2 separate regions of the Homo sapiens genome follow, and region 2 is linked to region 1. Evidence: promoter capture Hi-C in human tissues and cell types (Jung and others, 2019). All regions are on one chromosome and are shown on one strand. Each heading gives the region's core, a stretch centred on a gene start or on the middle of the fragment in contact. The rest is flanking DNA. Distances are from core to core; before and after follow the strand shown. Region 1 overlaps SMPD3 (sphingomyelin phosphodiesterase 3). Region 2 holds the start of VPS4A (vacuolar protein sorting 4 homolog A).

Evidence for each region. Contacts are between HindIII fragments. The study calls those that stand out against the background at their distance.
Region 2: the fragment with the promoter of VPS4A here is called in contact with a fragment that was not itself captured in region 1 in 1 of the 25 tissues and cell types used here (dorsolateral prefrontal cortex).

What each region holds. Positions count from the first base shown.
Region 1 is chr16:68,424,337-68,429,596 of GRCh38, reverse strand. All of the region lies in intron 1 of SMPD3 (sphingomyelin phosphodiesterase 3), which reads left to right. Among named protein-coding and RNA genes, the nearest start is that of SMPD3, 22 kb to the left of the region's middle. The HindIII fragment of the contact is 8,175 bases long and covers 1-5,260 here.
Region 2 is chr16:69,309,201-69,314,460 of GRCh38, reverse strand. VPS4A (vacuolar protein sorting 4 homolog A) reads right to left here and starts at 3,111. Exons shown (of 11, transcript NM_013245.3): 1 at 2,929-3,111. The coding sequence starts at 2,949. RefSeq lists silencers at 2,647-3,196, 3,257-3,396 and enhancers at 2,339-3,288, 3,289-4,239. The HindIII fragment of the contact is 10,929 bases long and covers 1-5,260 here.

The DNA.
Region 1 (5,260 bases), core at 1,347-3,846:
ACCCTGCAGGAGTAAGGGCCTGTGGTGCCCACTGCATGCACCCCAAGCTCCTTTTTTCTGCCCTCAAGGTCTTGCTGAGAGCAGAAACAATTATACTCCTGGAATCAATACAGGAGGCTTGAAGCGCTGTGCCCCCAAACCTACCCAGATCCTTCTCAGGAAATCCAGCCCAGCACCAAGGTTTCCATAGCAGTCAGAGTGCCCTTATCACTGGGCACAGAGGCTAACTGAGATTTTCAGAACAACCCTTCTCAAGCACAGAGCACTAACCAGCCCTCATGCAGCATTGACTGGTGCCTGGCTCTGGCAGCCCCTATTACACTGAGCTTTGCAGGATCTGGCAGACAGCTAGACTGGAATGGAGCCCACTGTATCCAGCAAGAAAGCAGACAGGCATTGGCTTTGCCCACAATGGAGATTAGACCACTAGCAATCCAGCCCTGGGGCTTCCATGCACCCCATCTCAGGGTACCTGGTAGGCTGGGGCCAACTCCGAGTCTATAACACTGCAATGGCCTAGCCCATAGCGCATGTCTGCCCTGTCTATGGCACCCAATGTATAGCCAGCAGAGAGGGGTCATCTCCCACAGGGCAGCCAGATATAGTTACATCACTGAGACTGACTTTCCCCTGGCTTGACTAGGCTGACCTGCTCTGACCACAGTCACCATTGTCTGCTGGGATTTTTTATGTGACCATAGTTCCTAGACAGCAGAACCCAACTGGGCCTGGTCTCCTCTGGGCTCTCTGCACACGCTGCTGTGCATGACCATCTGTGTCCAGGTCTGCCTCCCTTCTCTAAGGCAGGGACCAAGTGTGACCTCCTCCAGCCCCTAGTTCAGGTATCGACAGAGGGTTCTGTGATCTGGGGACCTTAGGGACTGCCTCTTGCAAACATCCCAAGCTCACTTTTTCTCTTTCTTTATCAGACATGGAAAATAGGGGGTTAGATGTTCCAGTTCCCAGCATGACTTCCTGGGAAGCCCTTTTCTCTCTGTGACCGGTTCTCCTATTTACCTCTTACGTTTTGAAGTCCAGACTCAAGACAGTATGAGGACAAAGGGATAAACCCACCCTCCCCTTTGAAAATCCAGGATGAGAAGTCCCTTCTGGAGCAAGCTGCCCAGGCCCTTCTGCTGCTGCTCCTGCTCCCTGCAAATCTGCAGAATGGGGCAGGAGCGGGGTGAAGGATGCATTCAATTTGTAAACCAGGGTGGAGTGGCTGTTTGAGGCAGCCTGTGTGGCTCTTCTGTTCAAAGCGTTGCCTCTGGCACACTAGTCAAGGATTTGTCCTACTCTTTCTGATCATACACGGTTTATTGCCCTCTGCTTCCTAATGTCTTTTTACCATGGCCATATCTTCTTGGGAGATGCTCACAGGGCCTTTGAGCTGGAAAATCTTGGGTCATTAGCCTCTCTAAGTGAAGTCAAGTGAGTTTGTCTCCATGATGTTTACTTCCCTGCTCCAAGGATGAGGCCTTGGCTGCTCAGACACTCCAAAGCAAACATAGAAATGGGGTGTGGATGAAGGTGGACATAGCTCATGGGAAGTCTAAGAAGCTGACAGAGGCACAGGAAGATGCTTCCCTGTGGGTAGATCCACTAAGTGGCATGAGACCCTCCCCTCTCTGAAGTCTTCATCTTTCCTTTGCATTTCTGGGTCTCGAGCACAGGGAACAAGGGACTGGATCCTCAGGTGAACCTGTCTTGTACCTGCCCCCGCTTGCCAAGCTCCTCCCGTCCCCTCTGTCCTGCCCACTCCCTTCCTCCTTCCTTTCTCTGATTCGATGTTTCAGCTCCCACATTTGGAGGTGACTGCTCACAATGCATCAGCACCCCCCCCCAGTCATTTTTAACTCCCCATCCCACTCCTGTGACCCAAATGTTAGATGTTACACAGTTCTCAACCCAGAATCATCTTGTTGACTTCTGCCCATAGCACTAGGGTTGTGCTGTCCGGTATGGGAGCCTCTAGCAATGTGTAACTATTTAAATATAAATAAATAAGATTAAATTAAAAATTCAGTTTCTCAGTCACCCAAGCCACATTTCAAGTGCCTGATAACCATGTGTGGCTACAGGCTACCATATTGGACAGTGTCGAAACAAAACATTTCCATCACTGCAGAAAGTTCTGTTGGACAGTTGCTGCCAGAGCCTCCAGATGTCTTAGGGTCCCAATTCTTTCACTAGATGCATTCATTATTCCTCCCAGTTCTTCCTTGCCGTCTGGCAAGTTTGACGATACAGAAAAGTGGTAAGATCATCTCTGAAATCAGATAGACCTTAGTTTAAGGCTGGGCATGGTGGCTCACGCCTTAATCCCAGCACTTTGGGAGGCTGAGGCAGGTGGGTCACATGAGGTCAGGAGTTTGAGACGAGCCTGGCCAACGTGGTGAAACCCTGTCTCTTTTGTATCTGAAAATACAAAAGTTAGCCAGGCATGGTGGCACACTCCTGTAATCCCAGCTACTTGGGAGGCTAAGGCAGGAGAACCGCTCGAACCCCGGAGGTGGAGGTTGCAGTGAGCCGAGATCTCACCACTGCACTCCAGCCTGGGTGACAGAGCAAGACTCTGTCTCAAAAAAAAAAAAAAAAAAAAAAAGATAGACCTGAGTTTAAATCTCTGATTTAAAATAGGCTGCTGAGTGGACCTAGGAAGCCTCAGTCTCCTCATCTGTAAAATGGGAATAACCATATTGACCTACGTGGATTGATGGCAGGATTAAATGAGTAAATTTAAAGTAGCTGGCAGAAAGAAGCACTCCACAAATGAGGTTATTATTATTCTTGTTATTAATAAAAAGTTGAACAGCCCAGTGTGAGGCTGAATCCGTATGAAATATTTACATGTGTACACACAGTCAGGGTTGGAAAATGAGTGCAGTGACAGAAACAGCAATGACGAATGTACATCTATCCCTTGGCCTCTTGAGGATATTTCTATTTTGGGTGCTATTTCCACACCATATTGATTTTAAATCAATTGTTAAGAGCTTTTCATTGTTTCACAGTTTTCAGAAGCATGTCTCTCCTTCAGATATTCAGTAGCTCCCCCTGGCAACTTTCATCAATGAGTCACTTTTATGGAGGCCAAGCAGTAGGGACAAGCTACTAGGTCAGCCAGGAGTCAGCTCCAGGCCACTGTGGGGAGACCCACAGAAGCTTCTTGACATGGTCATGAACTGGTTGTCAGTGTGACCAGGGTGAGCCAGCTCACCACTCTTTGTTTTCTCTTCCTCCAGTCTCCAGTCCCCATAATGACATAATAAATGGGGTTGTCAAAGATCAAATAAGGTTATTGAATCAACATTCATTTCCTTGTGGGTACACCTGTGTCTGACATCCGTGGGGCTTGGTTCTACATTAAGCCTTAGTAGATTCTCCGTTCAAATGTTGACTAGATACCTGATCATGTAAACGTCCTATTTAGAACTATGCTATGCATCTTGCAAAAGTGGAACAGGATTATTGATACTGTAGTAGATAAGATGGCTAAAATAGAGCCTCTATTTTATTTTCACCTTTGTTGTGTCTTAAGTCTGAAGTTTATTTTCCTTGAGGAAAATCTAGCCCATCATCAGCACTAGGGATCCCTGCTTCTTTTTAAGCAAATCCACTCTCAGTGCTCCCTTAGCATCCTCCACATGGAATCCTCTGTGCTGGGGGTACATTGTCACCTCAGAGACACACATGTGATTGACTTCCTCGCGGCATAGTGCAAGGGAGGAGGGCTGACAAACCCAGGTGTTGTTCCTTCTGGGTGGCACACCTCTCCCTCTCTTTCAGCAGGGAGTGCTTGTTCTCCAGATCCCCACCACCCAGCCCCAGCCTGGGCTGGCCCGAGGCCGGATATCTTGCTGAGTATCCCACCACCCTCCCAGCCTGCAGATTCACCCATCCTTATTGCCTCACAGTGCTAACAGCAATCTGAAGAGCTTAGGGTCAGCATTGATGTGTCCCATGGCGCTGCCACCTCCCTGCCCCTGTCATCACAGCCTCCTTGGTTTCTGCCCATCCTTCTTCTGACTCTGGCTCCTTAGGGCCCGCCCCCCCACCCATTGTCCTCATGGCATCCAGTGGAGTTTGCCTCCTGTGGCTGTCACTCTGCAAAAGCCAAAGACCCTCTCCAAGAGATGAGGAAGCTGGGCCCCTTCGCTCCCTCCTACTGATTATTCATGTGAAACCTTGGAACCATCCAGCTGGAGGAGACCCTCTTGGCATGCAGGGCTCTTGCCCCTGCCTTCACCCATCCCAAGCAGTCTATTTCTTTTGAATAGGAAAGATTCTCCCTCACCAGTTCCAGCCTTGACTTCGGTGCACCTCCAGAGACATCCATGAAGTTCTGTTTTGATTTCCCATATACAGAGAATTGACAACCAAAGGTCTAAAGCCAGAGGTTCTAATTCTGGCCCTTGTAAGCCCTACTATCTGATAAGTGGGAGTGAGTGCCATGACTACCAACCCACAGGCACCATCCCATCAGCTGAGGCCCAGGCCTCTCTTCCACATCTTCCTGGGAGGAGGTTTCTGCATCTTTTATTAGGGACTGTTTTCTTAAGAACATTCTTCTGGTTTATAATATAGCCAGGCGCAGTGGCTTATACCAGCAATCGCAGCATTTTGGGAGGCCAAGGTGGGCAGATCACTTGAGACCAGGAGTTCAAGACCAGCCTGAGCAACTTGGTGAAACCCTGTCTCTACCAAAAATACAAAAAATTAGCCAGGCATGGTGATGTGCACCTGTAATCCCAGCTACTCAGGAAGCTAAGGTGGGAGGATCACTTGAGCCCAGGAGGCGGAGGTTGCAGTGAACTGAGATCATGCCACTGCACTCCAGCCTGGGTCACAGAGTGAGACCCCATCTCAAAAAAAAGAGAAAACATTCTTCTGGTTTATAATAGAGTCATGAAGACAGTAACTTTGCAAGAGAATAGAGTCATCAAGACAGTAACTTTGCTGATGCCTGGCGTGGCGCTGAACCATTCTGTGTGGATTCTCCCATTTCATCCCCTCAGCTGTTGTATGATGCAGCTACTATGATTACCTCCATTTTACAGATGTGAGAATTGGGGTTCATAAGTAAAATTACTTTTCCCAGGTCACTGTGGAGTCAGGCCCAACATGACTTGAGGGTCTGACTGTTCGACCATGATCCACAGGCCCTTGCACACAGGACCAAAGCTCTGCAGGCAGTGCCCAGGAGTCACAAGGGTCTCTGCTGATGCTTATTCCCCCTACGGCCCCTGCAGCCCCATTG
Region 2 (5,260 bases), core at 1,862-4,361, 880 kb before region 1:
CTCCTCTCCCTGGTGGCTTCTCGTCTCCAGAACACACACCCCCAGTACCTTGGACTTTTTCACTCTCTGTAGCTTCATGCTTGGGTCTATCCTTAGAACAATACTGAAGGTATTCTTTGTCCCATAAGGAGCAGCACTGACCCATCCCCTCCCTCCTTTTGGAAATTCTAGTAATACACCTAAGAGTGTGCTGGGGCTGGGCACGGTGGCTCATGCCTGTAATCCCAGCACTTTGGGACGCGGAGGCGGGCGGATCACCGGAGGTCAGGAGATTGAGACCATCCTGGCTAACACAGTGAAGCACCATCTCTACTAAAAATACAAAAAGTTAGCCGGGTGTGGTGACGCGTGCCTGTAGTTACGGCTACTTGGGAGGCTGAGGCAGGAGAATTGCTTGAACCCAGGAGGTGGAGGCTGCAGAGAACCGAGATCACACCAGAGCAAGAGTCCATCTCAAAAAAAAAAAAAAAAAAAAGAGTGCACTGGACTTTTCTGGCAGCCACATACAGTTTTTCACACACAGGGGGTCCAAGTTTCAATGGAGAGAAACAGTTTTACAGAACAGGAGGGTAAGGTGAGAAACTGCCAGCCCCGCCGCATCTCTAGTAACACGTATGGCAAAAGATGAGGATGAAAGAAAAGAGTGCTAATGGGGGCTGGCAAATGCTTACTGTAAAGGACCAGATGGTAAATAATTTAGGATTTGCCAGCCAGATAATCTCTGTAGCAACGACTCAACTCTACCTTGATGGCACAAAAGCAGCTGTAGACAGTATATCAATAAACGAACAGGGATGTGTTCCAATAAAACTTTATTTATAGACCCTGAAATGTGAATTTCATAGGATTTTCATGTGTCATGAAATACTGTTTTTCAAGCCATTTAAAAAATGTAAAAACCTATGACATTATGTTAAGTCATAATGAAAGAAGCTAGCCACAAAGGACCACCTATTGTATGACTCTGTTTATATAAAGTGGGTTTCTCTGTAGGCAAACCCACAGAGAAAAAAAGTAGATTAGCAGTGGTTGCCCAGGGCTGGGAGAGAGAGGGGTTGTGGGTGAGGGGTTTCTTTTGGAGGTGATGAAAATATTCTAAAAAGTGATTATGGTGATGGTCACACAACCATGAATATACTAAAAGCACTGAATTATACACTTTAAATGGGTGAGTTGCGCTGGGCACAGTGGCTCACATCTGTAATCCCAGCACTTTGGGCGGCCGAGGTGGGCAGATCACACTTGAAGTCAGGAGTTCGAAACCAGCCTGGCCAACATGGTGAAACCCCGTCTCTACTAAAAATACAAAAAAATATTAGCTGGGTGTGATGGGAGGTGCCTGTAATCCCAGCTACTTGGGAGGCTGAGGCAGGAGAATCACTTGAACCCAGGAGGCGGAGGCCGCAATGAGTTGAGATTGTGCCACTGCACTCCAGCCTGGGTGACAGAATGAGACTGTCTCAAAAAAAAAAATTAATAAAAACAAAAATATATAACGGGTGAGTTATATGGTAAGCACGCAAGTTATACCTTAATAAAGCTGTGTTTAGGCCAGACCCGTGGCTCACACCTGTAATCCCAGCACTCTGGGAGGCCGAAGTGGGCAGATCATCTGAGGTCGGGAGTTCGAGACCAGCCTGGCCAACACGGTGAAACCCGGTCTCTACTAAAAATACAAAAATTAGCCGGGCGTGGTTGCGGGTGCCCGTAATCCCAGCTACTCAGGAGGCTGAGGCAGGAGAATCGCTTGAACCTGAGAGGCAGAGGCTGCAGTGAGCCAAGATCACACCACTGCACTCCAGTCTGGGTGACAGAGTGAGACTCCATCTCAAAAAAATAAATAAATAAAATTTAAAAATAAATAAATACACCTGTGTTTGAAACTGAAAAACATTCTCGGTTCACGGGCCATAAAAAACCTGCCTGGGCAGACGGGATCTGCGGCTTCTGCTGGTGGTACGGTGGGATCTGGCTATGGACTCTTAATTCCTAACCTGGTACCCCAACTCATTCCATGTCTGCTCCTACTTCTGCCCTCCTCCACCTCCAGGTCTCTGAATGCTACTGGAACTCTGATGTCCCTTCTTCCATGAAGTCTTGCCTAACTCTCCCAGGCACTTTGTTGGCTGTCACTTAATGGACACCTACTATGTGCCAGACATACAAGAATGCTTTACCGTAATTATTCAATTTAAAGCTATCATCACAACAACCTAGAGGGCATTACCCCATTTTACAGACCAGGAAACTCGAGACCCGAAGATGAAAAAAAAAAACTAGCCCAAGGTCACTTGCTGGTGAGTGGCAGAGCTGAGATTCAAACCCCGGAATGAGGCCTGAGCATGTTGATCTCTTCTGGCCCCGCAGGACTGACAGCACCTAGAGGGTGGGTCAGTTGTTCACCCAGGTGGCGCCATCCCAGCACCACCCTGCAGGATCTAGGGAATGAATGAAGGGTCGCTGGCCGAGAAGAGGAAGTCGAAGATTGGGGAAGGGGCCGGGGCTTGTTCGAAGTGAGGTCGAGGGACTTCCAGGACCCGGGACAGGAGAGGAGGGAGCGAGACAGGAGAGGAGGGAGCGAGCATCGCTGTCTGAACGCCCAGCCGGACCCCGGGCCGAGCTTCCTGAGGGTGCCTGTGCGGCTCGGGTGAGGCTGATCCCCACGGCGGTACCGGGGCGCCGGCTACACGAAGCGGCCCTGGGGCTGGGCCAGCCGGGCAGGGCCGGAAGGCCTGAGGGTGGAGATGCCACCCGGCTCCGAGCGCGTGGAAACAGACACGGGCGGAAGCGGCGAGGGGGCGGCCGGAGCGGGGTCGCGAGGCCGGGGCTGGGAGGCGCCCACCTGACCACCCGCCCGCCGCCCGGCTCTGCGGCCCGCAGGCCCCGCTGCCTTCGGCCTCCGAAGTCGGGCCGGGCCGCACGAAGTACCTGGAGGGTTGACGTTGTCATTTCATCTCCTGGGTCCGCCCCACACCCCGCGGCGCTGCTTGCGGCCTCGGTCCGGCCCCGGGGAGCCGAGGTACTGGGTCCGGCGCGGGAAGCCCGGCGGTGGGCGCTGAGCGCGGTGCGCGGGCAGGGCGGCCGCTCGCAGCGGGAGCCGAGTCCGAGGGCAAGCGAGGAGCGCAGCCCAGAGCGGTCGGGCCCGAGCCGAGCGGCTGCCCCCTAGCGTCCACGGCTCGCACTGCAGGCACCTCTCCCTGCCTCGGCGAAGGCAGGGGGCGGTTCGAGAGGCAGGACTGACTGGGGACGAGGAGGTGGGACTAGGGCGAGACGGACAGGGGGCGGGGACGGGGTGGGTGGGACAAGGCCGGGGCGGGGCCTGGCGGGACGTACATTCTCGGGGCGGGGCCAGGGGCGGAGCGGGGTAGAATCCGGAAATCCTGACCTCGCTTGGAATAACAGCGCCCATTGAGCAGTTTTATTCTCACAATAAAACGAACTTATCAGAGCGTTGGTTTCTCCATGTTTAATATCGCACGATCATAATTAGTACCTGCCTTGTCTGGCTTTTGTGGGGAATAAATGAGCTAGCTAATGTAAACAGAGTGTGCCCCACACTGGGGCTCAATCCCTGGTGGGATGCCGCTGACTGTTCAAAGCCAGTTTTGTTTTGCTTGGATTGATTGACTGATTGATTGATACGGAGTCTTGCTCTGTCGCCTAGGCTGGAGTGCAGTGGCATGATCTCGGCTCATTGCGACCTCCGCCTCCCGGGTTCAAGCGATTCTCCTGCTTCAGCCTCCCGAGTAGCTGGGATTACAGGCATGCACACCTACTGTGTGCAGCGTTGTGTGCTAGTTTCTGGGGATACAATGATCAAAGCAGTTCTAGGGCTGGGTGTACTGGCCCACGCCTGTAATTCCAGCACTTTGGGAGGCCAAGGCAGGAGGATTGCTTGAGCCGAGGATCAAGACCAGCTTGGGCAACATAGTAAGACCTCGTCGCTAAATTAAGAAACAAAACAAAACAAACAAACAAAAAAACGCACCAGAGGCAAGTGATCCATTTGTCCACAAGTCTATCCTGTGAGAGAAAAAAAATGGAGGGCAAAAAACATCCAAGTTGAGGCTGGGTATGGGGGCTCATGCCTGTAATCCCAACACTTTGGGAAGCCGAGGCAGGCCGATTGCTTGGGCCGAGGAATTCGAGAACAGCCTCGGCAACAGGTGAACCCCCATCGCTACAAAAAATAAAAAACGTATCTGGGCATGGTGGCGCACACCTGTAGTCCCAGCTACTCCGTAAGCTGAGTTGGGAGAATTGCTGGAGCCTGGGAGGTCGAGGCTGTAGTGAGCCGTGACCAGGCCATTGTACTCCACCCTGGGAAATGAAGCAAGACCCTGCCTCCAAAAAAAAAAAAAAAAAAAAAAAAAAAAAAAAAAAAAAAAAACCAAAAAATTGGCACACCTTAATCTCTCTTCACAAAATGCTAATTAAATACAAAGGAGAGGCCGGGCGCGGTGGCTCACGCCTATAATCCCAGTACTTTGGGAGGCCGAGGCAGGTGGATCACTTGAGGTCAGGAGTTCAAGACCAGCCTGGCCAACATGGTGAAACCCTGTCTCTACTAAAAATACAAAATATTCGCCGGCCATGGTGGTGGGCACCTGTAATCCCAGCTACTTGGGAGGCTGAGACAGGAGAATCGCTTGAACCTGGGAGGCGGAGGTTGCAGTGAGCCAAGACCACGCCATTGCACTCCAGCCTGGGCGACAAGAGCGGAACTCCATCTCTAAATAAATAAATAAATACAAAGGAGAAAACAATGAGGACATTAGCTTGACTACGCGACCGAAGGGAACACCCCTGGTGGTGGGATGCGTGGCCCTCGTGTGTCTCTCCACATGATACCCTGAAGAGAGCATGGCATCGTGGCATCTCTGCCAAGAGTGTGTGACACAGCCTGGTTGTGAGGCAACACCGAATAGAGCCAGCTGGAGAGCTGTGCTGAACAATCAAAGCCTTGTGCTGAGACTCAGGCACATGCGAATTAGAGTAAGGCCGAGGAACATTCCAGACTGAAGAACTGAGACACGACGACAAAAGGCAAGAAAGTGGTATTGGCCAGGATCCAAGGCCAGAGAGGAAAACAGGACATGGCCGGGATGGCTGGCATCATTTGAATGGGGTCTATGGAATGAGTGGTGGTGTGCCAATGTTGATTTCTTGATTAGGAGGACTTTATGGTGGCAATGCAAGGACTGTCCTTATGTTTTGGAGGTCCTCACTAGAGAATTTAAGGGTGCTAGAGAATCATATT